Regions from separate parts of the Homo sapiens genome. Here region 1 is linked to region 2. Evidence: promoter capture Hi-C in 16 types of primary human blood cells and fetal thymus (Javierre and others, 2016). All regions are on one chromosome and are shown on one strand. The core of a region is centred on a gene start or on the middle of the fragment in contact, and the rest is flanking DNA. Distances in the headings are between cores, read along the strand shown. Region 1 holds the start of LOC105377121 (a long non-coding RNA gene). Region 2 holds the start of PRICKLE2-AS2 (PRICKLE2 antisense RNA 2).

Region 1 (7,454 bases), core at 2,610-5,109, 76 kb after region 2:
TTTTTCAGTGATTTTTCTCCTGTGAGATTTAGAAAATGCTGTGCTTACCATCCAGTGCCTCTGTCGTGCACCCCTGTCCTTCGCTAGGGCTGCACGTCGTCACACCCACCTGGCCTAGAATTCCCCATCTCCGGGTGGGACCGGAAGACAGTCTACCTCCGCACGCCGTGCTCTGCGGGAAGCGGTGGATACTGCTGCCCTCTGCTGGTCACCACTTGAAACACTTCTGGGCTTTTCCGAGGAAAGGGGCTGTGAATAAGCAAAAATCGCAGCACGAGAAGAGGGATGGGTTCGAAACCTCTGTAACCCGAAACCGTCGAGCTCACCCACCCACCAACCTCCTGTGCACCTTGCAAAAAACAAAAAAAAATTTTTTTTTTTTTTTTTTCAAAATAAAAACAGGCCAGGCGCAGTGGCTCACACCTGTAATCCCAGAACTTTAGGGGGCAGAGGCAGGTGGATTGCTTGAGGCTGGGAGTTCCAGACCGGCCTAGGCAACATAGCGAGACCTCGTCTTTACAAAAACTACCCAAAAAAGCCGGGTGTGGTGGTGACCCCCGTAATCCCAGTTACTAGGGAGCTGAGGTGGAAGAATCACTTGATCCCAGGAGGTCGAGGCTGCAGTGAGCTGAGATCGCTCCACTGCACTCCAGCCTGGGCGACAGAGCAAAACGCTATCTCCAAAAAAGTATTAATTAATTAGTTAAAATAAAAACAGTACTAAGTAGTACAGATGAGTGATAGGAAGTCCAATACGGTTCTGATTCGTCCCATGATTAGACCACACCTCTTGTTTAAATGTTTACTGGTTAATTCTTTCCCAATGTTCACTTTCTTGTTCCTATGCTTTGCTCCATCAGCGGGTGGTTGAGACAGTGCTGTTTCAATATGTGCAGGGTAGTTTCTTCAAGTTTATCTTAAGAAATTGCAGTGTACTTGCTGCATGTGTTACCATAGTGCTCTGTGGCTGTGTCTTAATTTCACTTGTTTGCTTACACAAATCAGAGACTCACCCTTCTTTTGTTTTTCTTTCGATATTCCATATTCTAGTGGTTCCTTTGAATTTTTGCTTTTATAGTGTCTCTCCTCTAGTCCTCTTTATCATTTTTGTTGTTAAATAATTGCATTTGATTTCTGGAAATTGCTCCATATCAGCTCATGAACATTTTCTTTATTTATTTCTTTATTATTTTTTACAGCTGCATAATACCCCATCATGTGTTATGTACCATTGTGTATGCAACCATTTTCCTATATTTGGGCATTTAAGTTGTTACCAGTATTTTACAATTTTAAACAATACTGCAATGAATAACCTTGTGCATGGGTATTTTTGAATTTTTGGAGGTGTAGCTTCAGGATAAGTTCCCAGAAGCAGGATTGCTGGGTCAAAGGGTGAATGCATGGGTATTGTTGTTAAATTGCAGGTAATTGTTCTTCTTAGGGTCGGAGACTCCCTATGAGACTGCAAGTGACTAGTATTTATTGTGAGGATAATTTAACAAGTGATTAAAAACACTGGAATATTAGTACTCAAGAAAATAGGGTGTGACGTCAGCGAAGGCAAGAGGCGTAAACTCAAAGAGTTGGGAAGAGCAGGAATAGTAGCATGAATTGGTGTTGTAAAGATGGTTTTGCTGCTGGATTTGCATGTAAGGTTGACCTAAGTCTTTTTGCCACATAGGCTGATGATGATCCACCCCTGTGTGCCATCATTTTCTGTGGCTAGGTTCTTTTCTGTCTGTCTGCTTCTGCTCAGATTCCCTCTGGGCTCCTTTGCTCAGTAAGGCATACCTCTGTTTCTCCTGCCCCTCCTTGCTCCTGATTTCAGCCTGCTATTCAATCTCTGACAGATCCCGGCTGCTCTCCTCCAACATCCTCCCTTCTATTTCATGACCCTATGGTGTCTACACCCACTACTAGCTGGTGATTCCAGCCACAGTTTCTAATTCAGATTCTGAAAAGTAAAAGTCTGAGTGTCCCAGATCTTCCCTTTGGAACAACACTTTGTAGGCTTCAGGTAGATGATCACTTGCAGTTCAGACTGCTTCCCTGGGTGTCATGTGTCTACCCAGGATGAGTCCTACAGAAGGAGTGTGGGTGGAACTAGAGGTATGACAGGTTAACATGATTGATATGTAAATTTTAGGCAATTTACCAGAAGTGGGAGGATGGCCACTTCTCAATGGCTACGCTGGTTCAGCTGCAGGTTCCTGATTTTTCACATCATGTTCCCAGGATCGTATACTTAGCGCCCTGCAGATGACTGTGTGCTGATTTTCAAACCACAAAGAGGAAAACAAACTAGAAAAACCTCTTTATCACCACTTATTTTATACACAAAGGGGGGTAATTATTAAAGGAACTAAGGAAATTGGCACAAAGTAACTGTTTTTAAAGATGACCCTAACCCAAGCCCATCATTTTGATCTAACCTCAAATATCACTTCATCAAAAAAAAAAAACCTTTTCTATTCCATTCGTGCATTCATGCCTTCACTAATTTTGCCACTAATTGAATAATTTATTTAATCGTGTATTGCTTCTCAGTCTCTTTCTACCCTTTCCCCACCAGAATGTGAACCCCATGAATTTTCTGACCACTGCTCTGTCTGGTACCCCAGCACATAGTAAGAGGTCTATGCTAACAGTGGGGTTGCATGAAGTGTGTCATCCTGGGGGACACATTTCACTCTCCCTGCCTTGTGCAAGTGTCTTCTCGTCATGGAAAAAGAAAACTGATATTGCTCTCAGCAATTACCCAACCTGCTCCAGAAACAACAGTGTTTCCTAAGCACTCTTTTTCCTTCAAAATACTCTTTTGGAAAGGAGTAATTTAGTGAGGAAGAAATGAGCATGCTACATCAATTGATCATGATGCTGCAATAACCCTGAAATTTTTGTGCGTTCCAAGCGGATACTCTATGTAAAGTTTCCATCCTATGTGGTGTAATCAATAACTGCCTAACAGGAAGGATGCTGGCAGGAGCAGAGATAACTCCGCCTGCACAAACCCATCTTGGACATATGCAGGAAAGCTATAATCAGGGCCGCGCACATAAATTATTTGAAATTCAATGAAAAAGCTGAAAGTGCATGTAATTAAAAGTGAGCAAAGCAGATAAAGTCAATTATACACTTAGAGGAACATTGTTTTATGCAGTGGGCATGGTAGTCATCAAAATCAACAGCCCGTGGGGCCTGTACAGAGAGCTGACGACGCTCTGCTCAGAATGAAGGAATCCAGTGCCCTAAATCAGAGCAGCCTTTTCAGAGCCATATAATCTCACATAAAGGAAAAGTACAAAGGCTGAAAAGGAGGAGGGCCCTGCTTGGTGCGATCTCGAAATAAAACCAGGTTCTAATAGCAAAGGGCTTGCAACACAGATAAAAAAAGGAAGAAAGAGTGCTTTCTAAAATAAACCCTAGAACCAGAGCAAATAAGAAAAGGTATGTATGCCCTTAGCTCACCATAGCCTGTTTCCATCAAACATTTTAATTTCCATGGGGCAGGATATATATCTACCAAGAAGATACACATTTATTTTTCCTCCCTGAGATTACAAAAACCTCAGGTTTCAAGCTTAAAGAAGGGGCTTTGTAAAACTAGTTAATCCAGTCAAATTGAGTTAATGGCTACAAAGAGATTGATGGAATGGACAATTTACTGTTCAATAATGAGTTGTCAATATGGGGCAAAGAGCTGCTTTGATCAGCTGGGCAGTCAAATCACAGCCACAGTTCAGGGCTCGATTGATTCCTCAGCAATTAATGGTTATGATAGTAAAAAGAGAAGAAGACAGATCTGACTGGAAATTGGTCTCCTCTGTGCTGAGTGGAGAGGCTGACAGCAGGGCATTGTGCACCTTGAAGCTCATTTGCACCTGGAATAATGAAGAGTCATAGAATCCCCTGCAATTGAGATTTTCTGGCAATTGCAACCTTAATTTGATTATGCGTCTATACTAGGACGAACTGGAAACCAGAATGAACCAGTCACATACAATTTAAACTACAAGACTATTTATACAGGTTTCCCCCTATACTTCAACATGAGTTTTGGATCATACATCCAATTCTTGTCACAAATGTAAACAGGCTGATACATTTAACTATGTAAACATTGTAAGCTTTTATGTTGAAGAAAAACCCCTAAAAATTTAGAAAAATAAATGAGGGGGGAAACTGTGATACTTGGAAATTAACAAAGTTAATATCCTTAAAATATGAAGATTGCTTACTAGTCAGTGAGGAAAGATTCCATAGAGAATTGACAAAGCCAAACAAGAATTTCATAAAACAGAAAATATATGTGGTCAGTAAAATGTGAAAAAAAGATTAACCTCACCAATCATAAAAGGAATGCAAAGGAAAAGCAACTGTTAGCAAAACTTAAAATAGCTGATGAAAGTACATTGGGAGACAGGTCTGATGGGGTTCAGGACACGCAATCTCAAAATATCACACCTTGTGCTTTGAGGAAGTGGTAGAAGCAGGAAGGTCACTCTCATCTTCTCTGTGCCCTTCTCGCTTGAAGCCAGTTATAAAAGAATTCCCTGAACTTCCTATAAGGTAGGTCATAAGACCCTCATTCCAAACATATTATCCCTATGCTCAAAGAAAAGAAATCCCTTATATATGAAGATACAGGGACACAGAGAAGAATCTGAACACACAGACCTTGGTAAGTCCCCCCAGTTTATTACCATCACATCACACCCCCTTTGACCAATCATACTTCTACATAACTGTCCATTCTTCATCAAATTTACCTTACAAATATACAGATTTCTTCATTTCTTTGGGTCTTCATTTCCAAAGGCTCTCATGTCACCTAAAATTTATATTAAATATATTTGTATGCTTTTCTTCTGTTATTTTATTTATTTTATTTTTTTTGAGACAAAGTGTCACTCTGTCACCCAGGTTGGAGTGCAGTGGCACAATCTCAGCTCACTGCAACCTCCGCCTGCTGGGTTCAAGCAATTCTCCTGCCTCAGCCTCCCGAGTAACTGGGACTACAGGTGTGCGCCACCATGCCCTGCTAATGAGGTTTCACCATGCTGGCCAGGCTGGTCTCAAATTCCTGACCTCGTGATCTGCCTGCCTCAGCCTCTTAAAATGCTGGGATTACAGGTGTGAGCCACCTCTCCTGGCCCTGCTATTCTATCTTTTATTATAGGTGCCTCAGCTATGAACCTCGCAATGGGTGAAGAAAGGATACTACTTTTTCTCCCCTGCAGGTTCTCTGTTCAATATTAGTGGCAATGTAAATTGATATATATATCATTTGTGGAAAATAATTCATAAAATACTTACAGAATACATCAAAATATAAAATATTAATGCCCTCTTATTCAGCAATTGCACGTCTAGAGATTTAGATTGAGAAATAACTATTTAAGTGTGAAAATATATATGTACACGGATAAGTGACACTGTAATATTAATAAGATTGAAAAAAACAAAAATAACCCAAATCAACCAGCACTTAAGGACTGATGAAGAAAAAGTTGGTATAGAAATATAATGGGCCGGGTGTGGTGGCTCACACCTGTAATCCCAGCATTTTGGGAGGCTGAGGTGGGCGGATCTCCTGAGGTCAGGAATTCGAGACCAGCCTGGCCAATATGGTGAAACCCCGTCTCTACTAAAAATACAAAAATTAGCCAGGCTTGGTGGCACGTGCCTGTAATCCTAGCTACTCAGGAGGCCAAGGCAGGAGAATCGCTTGAACCCGGGAGATGGAGGTTGCAGTGAGCCAAGATCACCCCACTGTACTCCAGCCTGAGATCCGTCTCAAACAGAGTGAGATCCGTCTCAAAAATAACAAACAAACAGAAATAAATATAATGGAATCCTATATGGTCAATCCATTGTCATCCAAGATATCCACAATACATGGTAGAATGAATAAAACACAGTTTAAAATGTGCGAGTATAGAATGATCATGTTAATATACCCAGATGAGTTTTAAAGAAGCTATGCTTCTCTGGAATGTAAGTTCCAAAGACAGGGCTTTGTGCTCTTCACTGCTGAGTCCTTGAGGCCTAAGACAGTGCCTGGTACTTTGTAACCATGCAATCATGTTTGTTGAATGACTAAATGAAAGAATTTTAGAAAGTTTTTTACCAAAAGTTTAGCAGTGGTGGAGAGCTATTTAATAGTATTTTTTTTTTACTCTTCATATTTTCTCTATCATTTGAGTTGTCTTCAAAATGCTTGTTTCATTTTTATAGAAACAAATAATAGATTTAAATTATGTGATGATGCCTACTGCCTGTGAGATGTGGCAGTCTCACCTGTTTCAGCAGCTGTGTAAACTGGTTCAGCTCTTTTGGAAAACCATTTAACATTAAATATCCCCAAGTCACAAAATCCTTCTTCCCTTTGTCCGTTATTCCTTCATGGGATTTTATGCTAAGGAAAAAGATGCAAAACATGAAGTGATCTAGACATCCAAAGTCTTCATCCAAGTTTTTATATTAGGTAAGTAAAAACTCTGGTCAACCTAAAGACACCTCTAACAGAGGGAAGAGTGAAAGTAAATTATGGTAAATCCATTAGATGGAATTTAGGCCAGGCATGGTGGCCCACACCTGTAATCCCAGCACTTTGGACGACTGAGGCGGGGGAATCACTTGAGGTCAGAAGGTCAAGACCAGCCTGGCCAACATGGTGAAACCCCGTCTCTACTAAAAATACAAAAATTAGCCCGGCATGGTGGTGCAGGCCTGTAATCCCAGCTACTTGGGAGGCTGAGGCAGGAGAATCGATTGAAGCTGGGAGGCAGAGGTTGCAGTGAGCCAAGATTGTGCCACTGCACTCCAGCCTGGGTGACAGGGCAAGACTCCGTTTCAAAAAAAAAAGGAATTTAATGTAAAGATTACCACCTCTGAAGATCTGTAGCAATGTGAACAAAAGGAAGCTGAAAATGCAGGCATGTAATGATTTAATTTATGTGTAAACAAAACGATGATGCTGTTGTACTATGACGTAGAATCCTGGGTGCAGTTTTTTTTTCTTCTTAAAACCGCAGAAAGAATGTGGATTTTAGAGTTCTAGATAGGGGTTTTCATTTAGGCCTTGCGACATGGCTGTTACATGACCTTGGTTGGTCTGTTTCCCTAACCTCTTTGTGCCTCATTTGTCTTACCTACTAAATAGGCTAATAGTACTACCTCGCAGCATGAAGATGATTTTAATAAGATGAATGAGAGTAACGACTCGACAAACTATGGTGATTGTTTTTATTAATGCTGTTATTACATTTTCAGTTTTCAAAAAATTTTAAGCTCCCATCAGTTACAAACGGAAAGTAAAATAGCTAAAAAGGGAGTGAGAAAGAGATTCAAGAAATTGGGCTTTTGAGTTGGGCTGCACCCACTCTGGGACTCCGCAGGGGGCCTTGAGGGTGGAAAAGCCCCCGTGACCACACAGGGGCGCAGGCGCC
Region 2 (7,102 bases), core at 1,782-4,281:
TTCATTAATCCATACAATCATGCATTCAATGATATTTGTTTGCCTGTAACATATTTGAGTCTTTGCAGGTCATACAGTCTGTCACAACTCCCAACTCCAGAAAGCAACCCTCGACAATATGCAAATGAATAGGTGTGGTTGTGTTCCAATACAACTTTATTTAGAAAAACAGGCAGTGAGCGGTGAGCTGGATTTGGTTCACTGGCCATTGCAGTTTGCAAACTCCTGTTCTAAACAGCTCCATTTTCTTCATGTCTCTGCCCCAGCACATAAATAATAAATAATATAGGAAAGACCCTACTGAAAGGGAGCTAAATCATCAGTATGAGTTGTAAATGTCTGGAGGGCATTCACAGTCTTGAGGCATGCTTTCTTTCCTTGGGGAATTTTAGGCCTTACTAAACCTTCTTCCTGCATACTGAATACCAGGTATGAGGTCAGGGCTAGCAAACAGGAGCACAGTTTCTGCCCTCTTGGAGCTGCTGATCTGTCAAGAAGACAGAGATGAAACAACAACTACACAGATGCACCATAGTCATGATGAACCTTAAAAAGGAAAGATATATTTTTCCTCATCTAATCATCACTACAGCTTTAGTACTCACTTCCTGTCATTATGCCCATCTTACTGATGCATCTCAAGAGGTTTACAAATTTCCCCAAGTCACCCAGCCAGAAAGTAGCTCTCCAGTTCTGTTCGTAGTTAGAGGGGAAAGGAGTGCTTCTCAAGTTGGAGTGTGACCTGTGACAGTACAGTTCCATCTTGGGGACAGTATCAGCTGCTAATTTAAACACATCAACAGAGCTGTGATTAGTAAGGAGAAAACATTTCTGCAGTGCAGGGAGCTCATTATAAATCACGTGTACTTTGACTTTAAAATTGGAGAAACCCCAGATGGTGGGCTATATAATGAATCACCAGAGATGGAGATTGACAGGTGTGATCATGGTATTTTTTTCTGGATGTTTGGAATCCCACCCATGTGGATCACAGCACTGACCCACTCCAGGTTGGAGGGTGGTTGCTTTTTTCCAAGCTGTGGGTAACATGAGAATCCATTTACGTTTATTCCATGAGTATGTATTGAGCACCAAAGGGTACTGGGCACTGCTAGCTCTGCAAGAATACAGTGAAGAGTAGGGAGAAGATCCTGGCTCCCAGGGGATTCATTCAGCTACAAACTTACATATGACCTTAATAAGTCAGGGTGAGTAGTTTAAAAAAGGGTCAAGTGCAATAGTGAGTGGTTGGCCAGAAGACAACTAACTTTGCTACTTTAGAAGGAGTGTTCAGAAATGACACTGCTGAGGAGGTGACATCTACACGAGGACTTTAACAAACAGAAGTCAGGCATGCAAAGGGAAGAGTTTTCCAAGGCCTGCTGGAATAAGCTTATTGTTGTGTTTGGGGAGACAGGGAGGAATGTAAGCACAGCTGAAGCAGAGTTAAGCGAGGAGGAGTGTTTAGTTGATTATCTTGGAGAAAGAGAAGAGAGCCAAGTCACGTAGGGCCTTAAGGTCTGCGTAAGGATTCTAGATTTTGCCAGTAATGAAAGTAACCACAGAACTACCCTTTCTAGAGGCAAGTACACAGTTATTGCTCATCTTTGGTCAACATTGGCCTTTCTGTTCATGCCCTGCATGCAAGAAGACCCTGGAGGAAAATCTGAGTTAATGAATCAGAAGAGAGGCATTTCTCCTCTCTAGAGTGAGCAGGTAGTATTTCCAGTCCCACCCACACATAGTCCAGGGGAATGAATGGCTTACATTTAGGTGAAACTGATAGTAGATGCTGGGCTTGTGCAACAGGACCCTCCTGCTCTGATCAAGCTCTTTTGTTTTTCAAGGGGGTGCCTCAGGTTATCCCGAGCTTTCCCGGGATGCAGAAGCCTGATACCAGAAGGCAGTACACCTCCCAGCAGAATAGAAGCTGCTCTTCTTCGAGGTCACCTCCTCACGGAAATAGGAATCTGTTCACAAGCAGGATGCTCTCAAAAACATTTCACTTCTGGGCTTATGAAAGACAGGTTCGGGAAAACAGCATGCTGGGGAATTAATAGTATTTGCTAAGTTATTTATGCTGACCCTAATTCTACTCAAGAGCTAGGTTGGAAAGCCCTGCAAAGATCATTGTGTCCACCTTTTGTTTCTAGACATGAGTTTGAAGATGTTTTCTTTCCTTTCTTACTAGAGTTCATCCACTCAAACCACTCATTCATCATCTTAGGTTGTTATCCTCTCCTCTCTGCTTTCATATTGGGGAGGCTCTGGAAGTGATTAGGCTGTTGTAAATCGGCTTTTATGATTTGTATGTAAGAGATAAGCAGCAGAGTAAGCAAGCGATTGGAGGCCCCAGCTGCTATTGCCCTGACAGTTATCCCAGGAACGAAATTGAAACAAAAAATTACTGGAGTATATGATATTTAGCTGATTAATTTCTTTATAGGCATATCCAATGTTAAAATTTGACCCTTTAACAAACATTGTTTTATTTTTTATTTATTTATTTGTTTATTTTTTGGAGACAGGGGCTCGCTCTGTTGCCCAGGCTGGAGCACAGTTGCACAATCTCGGCTCACTGCAGCCTCCACCTCCTGGGCTCAGGTGATACTGCCACCTCAGTCTCCCAAGTAGCTGGGACTACAGGCACGCACCACCATGCCCAGCTAATTTTTGTATTTTTAGTAGAGACAGGGTTTCACCATGTTGCCCAGGTTTGTCTTGAACTCCTGAGCTCAAGCAGTCCACCCTCCTTGGCCTCCCAAAGTGCTGGGATTACAGGCATGAGCCACCACACCTGGCCAAACGTTGCTTTACTTTTACTCCATTTTATTGAGATATAATTTACACAGAATAAAGCAAACCAATATTAAAACTACATCTCAGTGAATTTTTACACATGTGTATTGTTTTACAGCCACCATCCAGATTTAGTTATAGAACAATTGCAGTGCCCTAGAAGCCTTCTTCATACCCCCTCCTCCCACTGCCCTGACCTGTATCACTATAGATAGCCTCAGCCTGTTCTTGAACTTCATATAAATGGAATCATACAGCACATATTCTTTTTGCATGTCCAAGCATTTTCTATGAGATACATCCATGTTCTTGGGTGTAGTTATTCGTTCTCATTATTGTGTAATATTCCATTTTATCAGGGTTTCTTCTGAGACTGTTGACAGTTTGGTTTGGAAAATTCTGTGTGGAGGCAAGGAAGCCATCCTTCACACTGTAGGATGTTTAGCAACATCTCTGGCCTCTACCTACTAGACGCCAGGAGAATCCCATCCTAATAGTGACAACCAAAAATGTGTCCAGATGTTTCCAAATTTCCTTCAGAATTAAAAACCATCATATCAGATGAATATATTCTAATGTTAAAGAAACTTTTTATTTGGAAATAATTTCAGACTTAAAAAAAGTTATAAAAATAGAACAAACAACACCTGTAATGTACTCTTTACGTAGATTGATCCATTGTTAACCTTTTGCCACATTTGTTCTTTCATGTTCACATGCATGCACACACACGCACACACACACACATTTTATTTATAAACCATTTGAGAGCAAATTGCATCCATCTGGGCCATTTACCACCATATCCTTCCATATATATTTCCCAAGAGTAAAGATCTTCTCCCACATTATCACCATTATTAATTGACCACAGTAAATTTAGCATAATACTTTTATCTATTGCCCATGTTCCATTTTTTTTTCAGTTGACCAAAAGTTATCCTTTATAGAGGCAGTCCCCAACCTTTTTGGCACCAGGGACCGGTTTTATGGAAGATAATTTTTCCACAGACTGGGGCCAGGGGGTGGGGATGGCTTTGGGATGGTTCAAGTGCATTACATTTATTATGTACTTTATTTCTATTATTACTACATTGTAATATATACTGAAATAATTACACAACTCACTTTAAGGTAGAGTCAGTGGGAGACCTGAGCTTGTTTTCCTGCAACTAGACAGTCCCATCTAGGGGTAATGGGAGACAGTTATGGATCATCAGGCATGAGATTCTCGTAAGGAGCACACAACCTAGATCCTGCATGAGCAGTTCACAACAGGGTTTACACTCCTATGAGAGTCTAATGCTGCTGCTGATCTGTCAGGAGGCAGAGGTCAGGCAGTAGTTGGAGCAATGGGGAGTGGCTGTACATGCAGATGAAGCTTCCCTTACTGACCACTCACCTCCTTCTGTGTGGCCCTGCTCCTAACCAGTCTGTAGCCTGAGGTCTGGGAACCCCTACTTTATAGCATTTAGTTTCCCTAAAGAGCAGGTTCCAGTCCAGGATCAGGTATTATATGTAATTGCCATGTTTCCCTCGTACCCTTTCATCTAGAACATTCTCTCAGTCTTGTCTGGTCTTAAGACTACAGTCCCTTTTTTCATAACAAATGTCCCTCCTTTTGGCATCTGTCTAATGTTTCCTCCTGAATGCATTCGGGTAATACATTCTTGACTGGAATACTACATAAGGGATAGTGTGCCCTTCTGAGTACATCTCAACTGGAGGCATGCAGGGTGCAGTTGCATCTCACCAGGGATGTTAAGTTTGAACTTAAGGTCAAGGTGTTGTCTGATTTTACCTTTGTTTAGTTACTAATTCTTCCCTTGCAACTAATAAGCAATGTGTAGGGAAACACTTTAAAACAATGCTCTCCCCCATCAAATTTTACCCCCTAAATTTAGCACACTTTTTGATTCTTGTGTGAAGCACTCTACCTCCAATGGTTATAAAATGACTTTCCAAATCTGGCACCCCCTTCCTTCTTGTGAACTTACTCTACTGACAGCGGTTGGCATTCCACTATACATAGAGCCCTCTCTTTTCCCTGTTTGTGTATTTATTTATGTTTTTATTTATCTGCTATCAGCATGGACTTGTGAATTCCTATTTGTTTCAGTGGTTTATAAATCATTACTTCACTTAAATATTTGAGTGCTCAAATTGTTCAGATTTGGCCAGTGGGGGCCCCTTCAAGTTAGGCCCTGTGTCCTTCTGACAAACCCCTGCCATATCTTATTTTTAATACTTTCTCACTTTATGGCATAACAAGATCCTGGTTCTTTTAATTTCCTTGCCTTTATCCTGGAATTGGCCATCTTTCTAAAGAGCCTGGATTCCTTTTAGTGGGGAATGGTAGAAAAAACCACAATATATTTATCCATTTTCCTGATAATTGACATTTGAGTTGTTTCCGTTTCTGGGCTATTACAAGAAAGCTTCTCTGAGTACCCTTGTCCATTTCTTGGACCTTCTTACTAACTTCTGATGAATATATAATCAAGAGTGAAGATGGAGAATTGTGGAATTTCTACTCTTGGTCGTACACCCAACAGAAATTCATAAGTCCACAAAAAATGGCCAAGGATATTCAGAGCGGCTTTATTTATAATTCATATACGTATATGTGTATTTAGCTTTAGTAAATATTGCCAAGTAATTTTGCAAAGTGCTCGTAACACTGCTTTAGGTTTTGTCACGGAAGAGGAAGTTGGAGGCCCCAGTAGGAGACAGGAATAATCAGTAGCAGGGGTGATAATGGGCCATTGCAATCCAAAGGCATGTTGTCTATGACCAGGAATGGCAAATTGCTGATCCTTGCAATATGTAATGAGTGGAAAATGCTGAGACTTTGCCACCTGGCCCATTCTTAAACATCTCCTTAGAGAGCTCTGCCTGAAAATGAGCAAAATGGAAGTTACTGCAGTCAGTATCTCCCACTACCTTCAAAATGGTTTTCATCTCAGGGATGCCAAGAGCTCATTTGACAGCAGTTAAGAAATGGAGGTCCATTGCTGGGGCACCCACTGTTTGAGAGCATCAAACCCACTGCTTTACTTTTGAAAGTCCCTCCCCGTGCGACCGAGAGGTCCCTTGGGGTCCCACACACATCTTCTGGCTGCTAGAGACCCATTTACAACCTTGGAGCATTCACTGAATGGTCTGAGAGAGTAAATATTTCTCTATCTATATCTAGGGAGTCACTTAGTGTCCAAGACACTTTTGATAGGGAGCCACCTGCCACTTAGGGACAGCAGGCAAAGCAGGAAACTGCTGCGGGCTAACAGAGAAGTGAACTGGCCCAATATTGTGGAACCAGTGTTTGGTATTGCCAGAAACAGCTTGGGCATGATCCAGCCTCTAGAGCTTAAAGTTTGCTCATCCAAAATATCTGTCCTACAGAGCTTATAGTGCATGATTAGAATCAAAAATGTAATTAAAGTACTTTGCAAAGTGAAACTCCAAATAGAGGAAGCATCATACATAGGATACACAGTGGGCTCTTAGTAACTTTGATGAGCCTTTGGAGGAACTAGTAACTGGTAAAATACATCTCTGGAAGCATTTTAAGTAAGTGCCCCCTCTAGGTAGATAGTGACCTACTGTGGAGTGGAGAGAACCCCCTCACAGGCACATGTGCCCCCTGAGAGGGCCTTTGTGCAGTACACAACTTCACAACGGTATATAATGACCCTAGATAGATGACCAGCAGTGACAGTGATACCCATTGCTGCACATCTGTATTAATCTCTGTGGTCCCCTCCTCTCTTCCCCAGGCCTCTCTGCTGATGGTGGTGCCAAGCGCCAGGAGCACCTATCCCGATTTTCCATGCCTGACCTCAGCAAAGACTCTGGAATGAATGTGTCTGAGAAGCTGAGCAACATGGGCACTCTTAACTCGTCCATGCAGTTCCGGAGCGCAGAGTCAGTTCGCAGCCTGCTCTCTGCCCAGCAGTACCAGGAGATGGAGGGAAACCTCCACCAGCTCAGCAACCCCATTGGCTACAGAGACCTGCAGTCCCACGGAAGGATGCATCAGAGCTTTGATTTTGATGGAGGGATGGCGGGCAGCAAGCTGCCAGGGCAGGAGGGCGTGAGGATCCAGCCCATGAGTGAACGCACCCGGAGAAGAGCTACTTCACGCGACGACAACCGCCGTTTCCGACCTCACAGGTCCAGGCGTTCCCGACGCTCTCGCTCCGACAACGCCCTCCACCTGGCCAGCGAACGCGAGGCCATCTCCCGGTTAAAAGATAGGCCCCCTCTGAGAGCCAGGGAGGACTATGACCAATTTATGCGCCAG

Evidence for each region. The method cuts DNA at HindIII sites, captures the fragments that hold promoters and counts their contacts. A CHiCAGO score of 5 or more calls a contact.
Region 1: a fragment that was not itself captured here is called in contact with the fragment with the promoter of PRICKLE2-AS2 in region 2 in 1 of 17 cell types (megakaryocytes); the score reaches 5.6 in megakaryocytes.

The regions. Positions count from the first base shown.
Region 1 is chr3:64,023,592-64,031,045 of GRCh38, reverse strand. LOC105377121 (a long non-coding RNA gene) reads right to left here and starts at 6,971. Exons shown (of 3, transcript XR_940906.3): 1 at 6,895-6,971; 2 at 6,304-6,421; 3 at 4,686-4,834. It also overlaps a transcript of PSMD6 not described here. RefSeq lists a silencer at 7,344-7,443 and an enhancer at 7,006-7,454. The HindIII fragment of the contact is 547 bases long and covers 3,586-4,132 here.
Region 2 is chr3:64,099,399-64,106,500 of GRCh38, reverse strand. PRICKLE2-AS2 (PRICKLE2 antisense RNA 2) reads right to left here and starts at 3,031. Exons shown (of 4, transcript NR_046701.1): 1 at 2,997-3,031; 2 at 1,768-2,008; 3 at 606-782; 4 at 143-487. It overlaps PRICKLE2 (prickle planar cell polarity protein 2), which reads left to right. Exons shown (of 8, transcript NM_198859.4): 8 at 6,576-7,102. It overlaps PRICKLE2-AS1 (PRICKLE2 antisense RNA 1), which reads right to left. Exons shown (of 3, transcript NR_045697.1): 3 at 3,370-7,102. The HindIII fragment of the contact is 2,788 bases long and covers 1,395-4,182 here.